Regions from separate parts of the Homo sapiens genome. Here all the other regions are linked to region 1. The links are contacts of gene promoters, found by promoter capture Hi-C in blood cells and fetal thymus (Javierre and others, 2016). All regions are on one chromosome and are shown on one strand. Each heading gives the region's core, a stretch centred on a gene start or on the middle of the fragment in contact. The rest is flanking DNA. Distances are from core to core; before and after follow the strand shown. Region 1 holds the start of NPC2 (NPC intracellular cholesterol transporter 2). Region 2 holds the start of DCAF4 (DDB1 and CUL4 associated factor 4). Region 3 holds the start of BATF (basic leucine zipper ATF-like transcription factor).

Region 1 (3,650 bases), core at 979-3,478:
TTATTTTATTTTTTTGAGACGGAGTCTTGCTCTGTCGCCAGGCTGGAGTGCAGTGGCGTGATCTTGGCTCACTGTAACCTCCACCTCCCGGGTTCAAGCGATTCTCCTGCCTCAGCCTCCCGAGTAGCTGGGACTACAGGTGCACACTACCATGCCCAGCTAATTTTTGTATTTTTAGTAGAGATGGGGTTTCACCATGTTGGCCAGGATGGTCTCAATCTCTTGACCTCGTGATCTGCCCGTCTTGGCCTCCCAAAGTGCTGGGATTACAGGTGTGAGCCACTGTGCCTGGCCGGAATGAGTTATTAAAATTAATAGTGTCTTCATCCAAACGCTGGCTACTAAGTTTAATGGAGGGAAAGGCAGTAATTTGAAGCGATAATAGCTTTCAAGTGCCAGTCTCCTAAATCAATGGAATAGCATTTAAGTGTTAATCGGCCAGCACTCCATTCCTTAATCAATCCTGTCCCCTAATCCCCAACTTTGCTTTTGTCTCAACATGAATTTTTATGACATAGGGGAAAAAGATTTCCATCTATGTTTTCAACACATTTCATTGAGCAGTTACTATTACCTGGGCACTGGATATAAAGCAGCAAACTTATGAAACCGCCTTTGCAAAAATCCTGAGGAAATTAAGACAGTGAAAGAGATCAGGACTCACCTACCCATCTTCCTTCTAACCTCTAAACTGTCTTTGTTCATTCCTGGGTGTAGGCTGAACTAGTCTTGGAGAGGAATTTATAGTTTAAACTCTGAAACGAAATGGATAATAGCCCTTTCCTGAAAAACCCCTTCTTGCCTGGGGACCGGTCTGCCTTTGTAGGACTAACAAATTAGCTACGAGTTTAGGGGCCACGCCGCCTCTGGCTGTAAGAGTCTGAACCTCCCCAAATTGCTCCTGGTAATGATATCACTATTGTAAAACCTAAGGTCAGTGCTTGAGATATTTTGCAGATCCTGCATTCCGATGCAGCAAATGACACCACCCAGAGGTCAGCAAGAAGAACTCACTTCGACTCTCCTATGATTTTATCTTCAACCTGACCAATCAGCACTCCCCACTTTCCAAGCCCATACCCGCCAAATTATCCTTAAAAACTCTGATCCCCGAATGCTCGGGGAGACTGATCTGAGTAACAATAAAACTCCGGCCTCCCCCACAGCCGGCTCTGCGTGAATTACTCTTTTCGCCACTGCAAATCCCATCTTGATAAATCCGCTCTGTCTAGGCAATGCGCAAGGTGAACCCCTTGGGCGGTTACACTTACTCTGGCTCCCCATTCTGCTGCGTGACTTTAGGTAGGCTACCCAACATCCCTGGAATTCAATGATTGATTATACGATCTCCGTGCTTCCTTTCCACTCATAGATCTTACAAAGTCAGTTTCATGCCTCTTTCATTGACAGTTCTATCTCTCTATCTCCACCTCTGAACAACATTGCTCGAGTTTCTGTTCCGACAATTCTATAGACTCGACTCAATGAAGGCACTCAGAATTTCTACCACCTGTTGTATTTTCCAACAAAGATTCCAACCACAGCGGCGAGAGGGAGTTATGTATCACAAGCTGTGATTAGAGACACAATGAGATTTATACAAGGAAAAACTGATTAAGAATCACAAGATTCCAAAGCCCAAAGGAAGTCCTATTTGTAACAATAAATGATGAAAAAGGGGAATTGACTTTTGACTTGTCAGCAAAAACGAAATTAAAAGAAAAGCAAAAGGAGTTGGAAGGGGGAGGCGGGATTCCAAGATACAAAGCATAAATAAAAAGAAGTTCTGTGCTCCACCCCTCCACCAGAGCTGGATACAGCCCTTCTGTTGTCCGCCCTACAAACTTTAGGAAACTTCAGCAAAAGGCCCACCTCCTGGAGTTCCCAGGAACCCCAAAACACGCGTTCTAAGGAAAGAAACAAAGTTGTGCGCGGTCGGGTTTCATGGAGGCCGGCGCCTTCTCCCCCGACCCAGCCCATTCCAGTTAGGTAGGGTCCAAGGCTCAGCCTGGCCGCCCGAGGGATCCGCCCAGCCCAGCCCCAGGGGTCTCAGCGCGGGGGTCCGGCGGGGCCTTCCACAGAGGGCGCGGGAACCTTGGGCGGGCCTGGGGCTCACCGCAGTCCTTGAACTGCACCGGTTCGGCCTGGGCAGCGGTGCTGAGCGCCAGGAGCAGGAATGTAGCTGCCAGGAAACGCATCGCGGATAACGAAGTTCCAAGCTCGGGAAAGAAGCAGCGGCCGCCCGCGGTCACAAGACAAACCTGTCGGGGCGGGCCCGGGGAGGAGCCCAGTCAGGCGACCTGTCACCAGTAACCACAGCTGAGGCCCGCCCGCGCCCCGCCCCCGGCTCCGGAAAGCCAGCTCCAGCCCTCTCAGGCCCAGAAGCCTGCAGTCTCCGCCCATGCCATCCCCTCAGAGGCCTGACCCGCCCGGACCCACCTCCGCCCCGCCCCGCCTCACTCCTCCCCGCCCCGTTCCTTCCCTTTAGAGCACCTCTCCGGCTTCCTGGGTGCGTCCCCGCCGCTGCCGTCTGGAGCATTCCTAGCCAATCAGACACCTTCTCCTCCCGCACTACCCAATAGGCATGTTGGGGGGGCGGGGCCTCCGTGAAGTCCCGGCCTCCTGTTCGTTCTCTCCGCCTCCCGAGGCCCCGGGTGAGAAACGGGGGAGACGCGAGGGGCGGAGCTTGTGGAGGAAGATGGCTGCCGCCTGGGGGTCGTCCCTAACGGCCGCGACGCAGAGAGCGGTCACTCCCTGGCCGAGGGGCAGGTACCAAGACTAGAAAGGCACCTGGAAAGGGTGTTTGGTTCTGCGCCTCTAGGACAAATGGGAAACTAAGGCCTGTGGGGGATGCGAGGGTTTGGTGGGAGGCCGTCCAGGTGGGGGTCGCCAGGTTTAGCGTGAGGCGCTCCAGGTCGAGGGTTGCAAGGTGCCCCTTCTGCTCCCGGGCTCACCCTCCTCCCTTGCGCGCAGGCTCCTCACGGCCTCCCTGGGACCCCAGGCGCGTCGGGAGGCGTCGTCCTCCAGCCCCGAGGCCGGCGAAGGGCAGATCCGCCTCACAGACAGTTGCGTCCAGGTAGGAGGCCGGACGCGGAGCGGCGGTACCCAGGCGATTGGCGGGAGCAGCGGGAACTGCTCTTCACTCAGCCCTTTAACTCCCGTTTCCCGCTATTCTTGATCCCCCTTCCTGCATTTCAGAGGCTTTTGGAAATCACCGAAGGGTCAGAATTCCTCAGGCTGCAAGTGGAGGGAGGTGGATGCTCCGGATTCCAATACAAATTTTCACTGGATACAGTTATCAACCCCGACGACAGGCAAGGAGGAAGGGGTGGGCCCCCAAAGGAGGTACAGGAGGGACAAAAGTGTCTCCAGTTTAAGGTGCACTTTTATTCCAAATTTAAAGGGTTTACCTGGGATGGTTAACACCGCCCGTCTCACAGTGAGGATGCAGTAAAGGTTTGTTGTTCTGAATCAAAGTAACTAAGTTATAGGAGCAAAATTGATCTGCCCAGGTCCATTGGGTAGTCGGTAGAAAGTCAGGCCGGACTAGATTCCAGGCTTAAGTCCCTACACGTTTCCCAGTATTTATTCCATTGAATCATTTTGCCTCAAAGAAAATCAGCACCTGTTAAAGGTAATGGGGAAGCTCC
Region 2 (3,650 bases), core at 1,151-3,650, 1.6 Mb before region 1:
CCATCTCAAAACAGACAAAAAATATATATATATTGTTTTAGTCTTTGCCATGTGCCAGATATTTTCCAACCTCTTTCTATAGATTCATTCCTTTTCATTACAACATTTGCCTTGGCTTCAAATTCTGGAGATGAAATGAAAAAATAATTTTTACTTTTGAAGGTAATATACACCATCTAGATACCATGCTACCTTTATAATCGCGGGTGCTTAACCAATGGGCGCTGTGCACCAAGTCCTGGGTGAGGTACTCCATCATCAGCGCTTACTCCTTACAACCTTTCTCAGTAGATGTCTTATCCTCATTCTAATCTGTGAAGAAACTGAGGTTGGAATGCCTCATGACTTGCCCAAGGCCCAGCAAGCTTCATTTGTTCACTGATTTGCAAACATTCTTTAATCTTTCATCTGTGTGTGTTGCAGGTCCCCGAGGTATATCTCATGCCCACGTCACTGTCCCCTCTGTGGACATTCAACAGAGCCTGCTGGCCGGCTGCCAGCCACTCATTGACTCAGCAAGCCCAAGCCAACTCCTCCTGCCACCTTCCTCAAGTGTCCCCTGGCTCTTCAGTGGAAAATCCAGCTTGACTCCTCCCCGAGAGTTAAGTCTGGCCGATTCTCCCTCTGAATTCTGCCTCCCATCTGTACCCCCCTTCCATCCTGGCTACCCCCACCCTGGTTTGGCCCTCACTACCTTTCACAAGGACTGTTGCTGCAATAAGTTCCTTAGGGGTCTCCCAGCTGACTTCCACAATCTTTTCTCCCCAACCCCCTACACGGTGATTTCCCAGAAGCACAGCTCTAGTCCTGTCACTTCCCAACTCTAGAACCCTCAGAGCCTCCCATTGTCTACTTTTTTTTTTCTTGAGACAGGGTCTCACTCTGTCACCCAGGCTGGAGTGCAATGGCGCTATCTCGGCTCACTGCAACCCCCGCCTCCCGGGTTCAAGCAATTCTCCTGCCTCAGCCTCCTGAGTAGCTGGGATTACAGGCGCCCGCCACCACGCCCGGCTAATTTTTTGTATTTTTAGTAGAGTTGGGGGTTTCGCCATGTTGGCCAGGCTGGTCTGGAACTCCTAGCCTCAAGTGATCCACCCGCCTCAACCTCCCAATGTGCTGGGATTTCAGGCGTGAGCCACTGCACCCGGCCTGACTACTCTTTCCCTGGCAATTGCTGCGTCACCAAGCCCCAACCCACCCTGCTGAGTTTTCCTTCCAAGACTCCCCTCCCATCCAGCCGGCTTGAACCGGCCTCCAGTCACGTTGTTTGTTCAGCTAGAATTTTTCTCTGCCTTCTCTTCAAGGCCGCTCAAGCTTCATGAAGCGGTTCTTTATTCTGACTATGCCCACTTCTCTCATTTCCCTCATCACCCGGCCCCGCTCCACATACTGCATTTATCTATAAACTCCTGAGAGCCAGGAGTTTAGCCTGAAATCCTAGCTTCCTGGTTAAGAGCTGAAATGCCTTCGCACGGCGTGCAATGGGTGAACCCCACCGCCTGCTTTCTAACGGGTCCAAGCCGCGGGCAGGGGCCTGTGTTACGGAGCCGCATGACACACCAGGCCTACTGCTGGACCCCAACAAGCCTAGCCTCTGTGAATCCAGCTGTCCTCACAAACTGTCTCTTCGGGACACAAGCCCATCAGAGGCTTCCGTTTTCCTTTCATAAGATCTCATAACCGTCAGCTGATACCTGGGACAGGCACAGCACACATAGGTCATTCTAGAAATATTGGTGGTCTGAACAAACTCTAAGCTGGAGAGGACATGAGAATGATAGATCCGATTCCTTCTCTCAACAGAAGAAATCAAGGCACAGAGAAGGGAAGAGACTCGCCCTAGGTCCCACAGCAAGCAGCAGTACTGGAGCCAACACGGAGGCCCCCCGGTTTCACGGTCAGGGCTCGCTACGCTACACCCTGAACGCAGACCCAGGGCAGCGGCCTCGGCCGCCTGAGGCCACTGCCGAAGACTTCGCCGCCAGTCGTAACATCACGTTACTTCTGTCCCTCGCCTCACAGACTCCTTCGCTCTTTCCACTACAGCGAGAGGACTTCTCCAGGGCCGCATCACCCTGCGGAGGGAGGAAGACACGGTCTCTCACGAAAGGGTCTCCAGACAGTTCCGCTGCTCCGGGAGCAGCCCCCGGCCCCGCCCCCGCGTGCGCCTGGCCCCACCCCCAAGCGCTCCATGACCAGCCTCCACGTGCATCCGCCCCAGACAGGCCAGGCCTGGGAGGAGCCGAAGCCCCACTCCCCGCCTTCTTCATGAGATCGTCCCTATTGACGTCGACAGACAGAAGCCGCGTCCAGTGAGAAGGAAAGAACGGCCGCTATAGCCCTATCGGCTGCTACAACACCAAAACGCATCCACCTAACTGGCTGACGCTACACCTTGGTCTTTCCGGGTCCTTGCACGCTTCGCTCCAACTCCTGCAGAGCTGAGCCGGAGGGGAATCCGGAAGGGACACGCTGAACAGGTAAGACTGTGCTGCCTGGGGTGCCTACTGGCATCGATTCGAGGGCTGCCGCGCTCCCGCTGCAGAGCTCGGGGTGGGAGACAGGCGCGGCGAGGAAGGCCAGGGAAAGGGGCGGGGAGGGGCGGGGAGGAGTGAGCACGTGGAACGCCGGCGCCACCGGGCCTAGGTGGCAGCTGGGCCGGCGCGCTCCGCCCGTTCTGGGGCGCGTGGGGCCCTCCGGCCGGATCAGTGCTGCAACCGTAAACACGCAGGGAGGGCACCCCGAGTGTCGCCGCTGAGGGCGTTTCTCTAAGCGCTTCTCTGAGACCTGCTGCTGAAGGCCCCACCCGACACCTGGCGGGGGCTGGGCTGCGGGCCTTGGGGCGGTGTCCCCTGTGAATGTTCAGGTCAGCATAACAGGTTAGGTGTGGTTGAAGCTTACGAAGTGGCCGGCTCTGTGCTGCCGGCTTCACAGGCGCTAACATTTGCCAGCGCTATGATGTCCTTGTCAGACGCAGAAAGGGGTGCAGTTTGGTTGTCCGTCGGGGTAGCGCACAACTAGCAAGTGATGGGGCCTGGGTTTGGCCCTCGCCTCCACTCTGAGTTGTGAGTTAGCGAGAAAGCCACGCCTCGTGGGCTCCCCGGGGGCTTCAGAAACCATGACGCCTTTCACCATGGTGTTCTACAGGCATTGTCTTGTGACTCCAGCAGCGCAGCCAGAAGCAAAGAAAACTGAGGGGACGGCTTCCTAGAGGAAACAATTCCAAAGTCCCAAACTCTGATTTTAAATAACGATGGAAATTAGAGTCGCGGTGGTGTTCTTTTTTTTTTTTTTTTTTTTTTTTTTTTGAGGCGGAGTCTCGCTGTCGCCCAGGCTGGAGTGCAGTGGCACGATCTCGACTCACTGCAGCCTCCGCCCCCGGGGTTCACGCCATTCTCCTGCCTCAGCTTCCCGCGTAGCTGGGGCTACAGGCGACCACCACCTCGCCCGGCTAATTTTTTGTATTTTTAGTAGAGACGGGGTTTCACCGTGTTAGCCAGGATGGTCTCGATCTCCTGACCTCGTGATCCGCCCGCCTCGGCCTCCCAAAGTGCTGGGATTACAGGCGTGAGCCACCGCGCCCGGCCTGAGGTGGTGTTCTGTGGGTAACCAGGCCTGGGGGTCCTACCAACAGAGGTGGAATCCCTGTT
Region 3 (3,650 bases), core at 403-2,902, 1.0 Mb after region 1:
ATAAATCAGTAAACGAATAAAATAAGTATAAAATTGGGTAACTGCTATGGGAGAAATGAATAGTAGCTGAGGTAGAGGATAAGAATGAAGGTGGAAGGGGAAACCCTCCATGGGCTCACTGTGTCTTTCAGAATGAAAGCTAAAATCCTGATGTTGGCCTCTAAGGCCCTCCCTGACCGGGCCATTACCTCACTGACCTCATCGCCTGCCACTTTTGCTGCCTCTGATATCCAACTACCTGGCCCCCCTGCTCTTTTTCCAATACTCAAGCACACTTCCACCTCAGGTCCTGGAATGTCCTTCCCTGAGACACTCACCATTCACTCCCTCTCTTTCTTCGAATCTCTGCTCAGGTATCCCCTCTTTGGGCAAGGCCCTTCTGACCACCCAGAATTCCCTAACCTCCAACCCTGCTTTATTTTCCTCCATAGGAAAGGAATTTTGTCTTACTTAATTTAACCTTAGGGCAATATTGTCTTAGTCTAGAAATTCAGCTCATGGATACAAAAATCCTCTAGGAGCCGTAACTTCCTGTCAATCCTAAAATTTAATAAGGCAAATGTTTGGCTTCGAGCCATACTGGGAATAAGGTAAGGCCTTTTGAAAAAGCCACGATGCCCAGGTGAGGGTTGAATTGATCACTGAGAACCCTACAAATGCGCTCATGGCAAGGCTGGGAATACCCTACACTTACCCTCTCGGTCATTTACTTCAGAGTCTGCGGGGCATTCTAATCCGCGTTGTCATTTGCTTTGTGCCACATTCCTAAGAGGTAGGCAGGGCAGGTTTTATCATCCTCTGTTTACAGATGAAGATAATGAAGGTCACATAGCTCAAGTGAGCTACCCAGGGCCACAGACATACAAAGTGGTAGAACCAGAATTTAAATCTTGGTTGGTCTGACTCCAAGTGTAGTATTTGTTTCACTTTTTCTTTCTTTCTTTCTTTCTTTTTTTTTTTTAACTGTTTCTGCATTCTGGGTTCTGACCAGGTGACCTTGAATCATAAAGATTCAGGGCCTGTCTTGAGCTGCTCAATATGGAAGGCATCTTTTCTCTAAAGAGTGTGAGCTCCCTGCCAAGCAGCACAGGCGCTTAATAGGCTTTCAGAGCAGCAATTCTAGAACCTCCCTTGTGGCTTTCTGATCTCCCACAGCCCTTGTGTTTGATGGTCAGGAAAGGAGAATACCCTTGGATCGTCTTATCTCCAGACCACCCCGAGGCTGGCTGGACTTAAGGGGTGAGGAAAGACAAGATGGGTGAGCAGCTGCTTTCGGCTGAAAACCAGAAAGAAATCCCAGTGTTTTTGCTTTATTTTGGTTTAAAAATCAAGTCGTATGACAATGGAAACATTTTCCTGGTTGTCCTCTCCTCTCTGCCCATGTTGACAGAAGACGGACTTGCTAATTCTGGCTGGGGTTTTTCCCTGCCTGGGCTGTTTTTCTCTTTTATCTTCATCAATTGAAGAGGGCTGCTGTGTCTTTCAAACTGTCGGAAGGTATCTGTATTTTTTTTTCTTTCACATAATTCTGTAGGTCTTTTCCCAGATATGTATTTTTCTCTCTAACTTCTAACTCGCTGAAGTTTCCGCCCATGTGACTTCCAGCGTGAGTTACCAGAAACCACAAGAGAGAGAGAGAGCGTGCAAGCCCCAAAGCGAGCGACATGTCCCTTTGGGGAGCAGTCCCTCTGCACCCCAGAGTGAGGAGGACGCAGGGGTCAGAGGTGGCTACAGGGCAGGCAGAGGAGGCACCTGTAGGGGGTGGTGGGCTGGTGGCCCAGGAGAAGTCAGGAAGGGAGCCCAGCTGGTGACAAGAGAGCCCAGAGGTGCCTGGGGCTGAGTGTGAGAGCCCGGAAGATTTCAGCCATGCCTCACAGCTCCGACAGCAGTGACTCCAGCTTCAGCCGCTCTCCTCCCCCTGGCAAACAGGTAGAGTCCTCCTTTTTCTCTCTCCTACCTTCTGATTCTCCTGGGGGATGGAAAGAGAGCCAGGCTTCCTTGTCCTGCCCAGGGAGCTGAGGATGGAGGAAGTGGCTCGTTGCACGGGCACTCTGTTAGACTTAGGACATGGAATTTGCTACTAAGCTGTGCATATTGGCAGAGATCCTCATCCTTCCACCCATTCTGCCAAAGCCCCTTTTTCTCTCCATTTTCCAAGGCTGCCTATCACCTCTGCCTCACTGGGGTTGCCACCCTAAAAAGCTTTCTAGGAAGCAAAGAGGAGGATGAACATCAAAGAATGCAGAGAAAAGAGTCTACTGTTCTCCAAGGCTGTAGAAAAGTGAGAGGAGTTTTCAAGTGGGCCGCTGGCATGCACAGCTCAAATCCTAGATATGCAGTTTCCCAGGAGACAGCCAATAGGGAAGGGGAGAAAAGGGGTTAGGGAAAAGTTAAAAAAAAAAAAAAAGAAGAAGAAGAAGAGGAAGAAGGAGGAGGAGGAGGAGAAACCCAGGCTAGCATAGAAGGATCTCTCTACTGGGGCACTGCCTCTGTTGCTAGCACAGCCAGCAAGGGGAGATGCTAGAGGTCCAGCCAATATCTCTTTGCTTGTGGCTTCTGGATAGGAGCAAGGAAATGAATGAGGAGGTGGCTCTGGAAATTTGTTGGAAGACATTTGCTGGTAGTTCATCTTAGCTCTGGGGAAACCAGAGAGACTGAGATAGGGATTGTGGGAGCATTTGGAGTCTAGATTGTGACTTCCAAGTCCAAAGGTTTTAGCTTGAGGATTACCAAAAAAGGAGTGCCCTGCCCATCTCACAGCTTCTAGGGTTTTGTTCTGCACCACACTCTTGACATCCCTTGCTGTAGGAAGCCCTCCTCTTTCTCATCCGACATGTATCCGTGGGTTAAAATTTTCTCAACCTTCATAGTTTAAAAACTTCATTCTTTCCTTAGCACAGATATCCACAAGGGTTTTCAAAATGCTGCAGCCAAAATAAAAGTATATAAATATTGAACAGGGCGTATATCCTAAGCCTCTAATAACGGAGCAGCAGGCTGGGATGAGTCTGGGTGGAGACCTCTAGAAGGCACAGAATCCAGTCTGCTGCTCAAGATGGTGTCAGAGTGGCTCTGACTGCCTGGAAGTTTGTACTTTTCTTAGGAAGGAAATTACTCATGGCTTCCATGGTAACCTGGTGCCCCATCCCCCTTAGAGGAAGAGCACTTCCTTCCTATCTATGCCAATGACCTCCTACCACAAAGGCCTGAAAGTATTGGACATGTTGGTGAGCCCAGTACTTAGTGATCCCAGAGCTTTGCCCTTGGATCTGTGCCCCTCTAGCCTGTGGGAGACGTGGAAGGGAACAGGGCATGAGTTGCCAGGACTCCTACACCTACACTGCAGCATCTGGGAGAGAACTGGAGCTAACCTCTCTGCCCAGGCACAGGACATGCCTCTCTCTGGGTGTAATTAGAGAACACCCAAAGATCCCCTTATCCTACCAAGCACCCATCTACTGCCCACCACAGCCAGGTCACCTCCACCATTAACGTTCTTTTTGGCATTGATGTGCCAGGCATTGTGCTGGGGCCATGGGGAATGTCACAGTGGCTGAGCACAACGGAAGGAAAGAGGAGGCAGATCTGGGATGCACCCTCAGCTCAGGAATGCAGCAGAAGACCACATGGGGTGCAGAGTAGCTAGCGGG

What was found. Contacts are between HindIII fragments. The CHiCAGO score rates a contact against its expected background, and 5 or more counts as called.
Region 2: a contact is called between the fragment with the promoter of DCAF4 here and the fragment with the promoter of NPC2 in region 1, in 1 of 17 cell types (non-activated CD4 T cells). The highest score is 7.3, in non-activated CD4 T cells.
Region 3: the fragment with the promoter of BATF here is called in contact with the fragment with the promoter of NPC2 in region 1 in 1 of 17 cell types (total CD8 T cells); the score reaches 5.4 in total CD8 T cells.

Annotation. Positions count from the first base shown.
Region 1 is chr14:74,491,077-74,494,726 of GRCh38, forward strand. NPC2 (NPC intracellular cholesterol transporter 2) reads right to left here and starts at 2,229. Exons shown (of 5, transcript NM_006432.5): 1 at 2,117-2,229. The coding sequence starts at 2,198. ISCA2 (iron-sulfur cluster assembly 2) reads left to right here and starts at 2,689. Exons shown (of 4, transcript NM_194279.4): 1 at 2,689-2,769; 2 at 2,974-3,076; 3 at 3,199-3,314. The coding sequence starts at 2,699. RefSeq lists silencers at 1,982-2,041, 2,212-2,491 and an enhancer at 2,692-2,771. The HindIII fragment of the contact is 4,485 bases long and covers 1-3,650 here.
Region 2 is chr14:72,924,064-72,927,713 of GRCh38, forward strand. It overlaps DCAF4 (DDB1 and CUL4 associated factor 4), which reads left to right and starts at 2,401. Exons shown (of 14, transcript NM_015604.4): 1 at 2,401-2,480. RefSeq lists enhancers at 513-1,379, 1,780-1,879, 2,170-2,439, 3,111-3,650 and a silencer at 2,610-2,669. The HindIII fragment of the contact is 1,582 bases long and covers 1,313-2,894 here.
Region 3 is chr14:75,520,817-75,524,466 of GRCh38, forward strand. BATF (basic leucine zipper ATF-like transcription factor) reads left to right here and starts at 1,653. Exons shown (of 3, transcript NM_006399.5): 1 at 1,653-1,929. The coding sequence starts at 1,867. RefSeq lists an enhancer at 1,621-1,950. The HindIII fragment of the contact is 2,331 bases long and covers 1-2,200 here.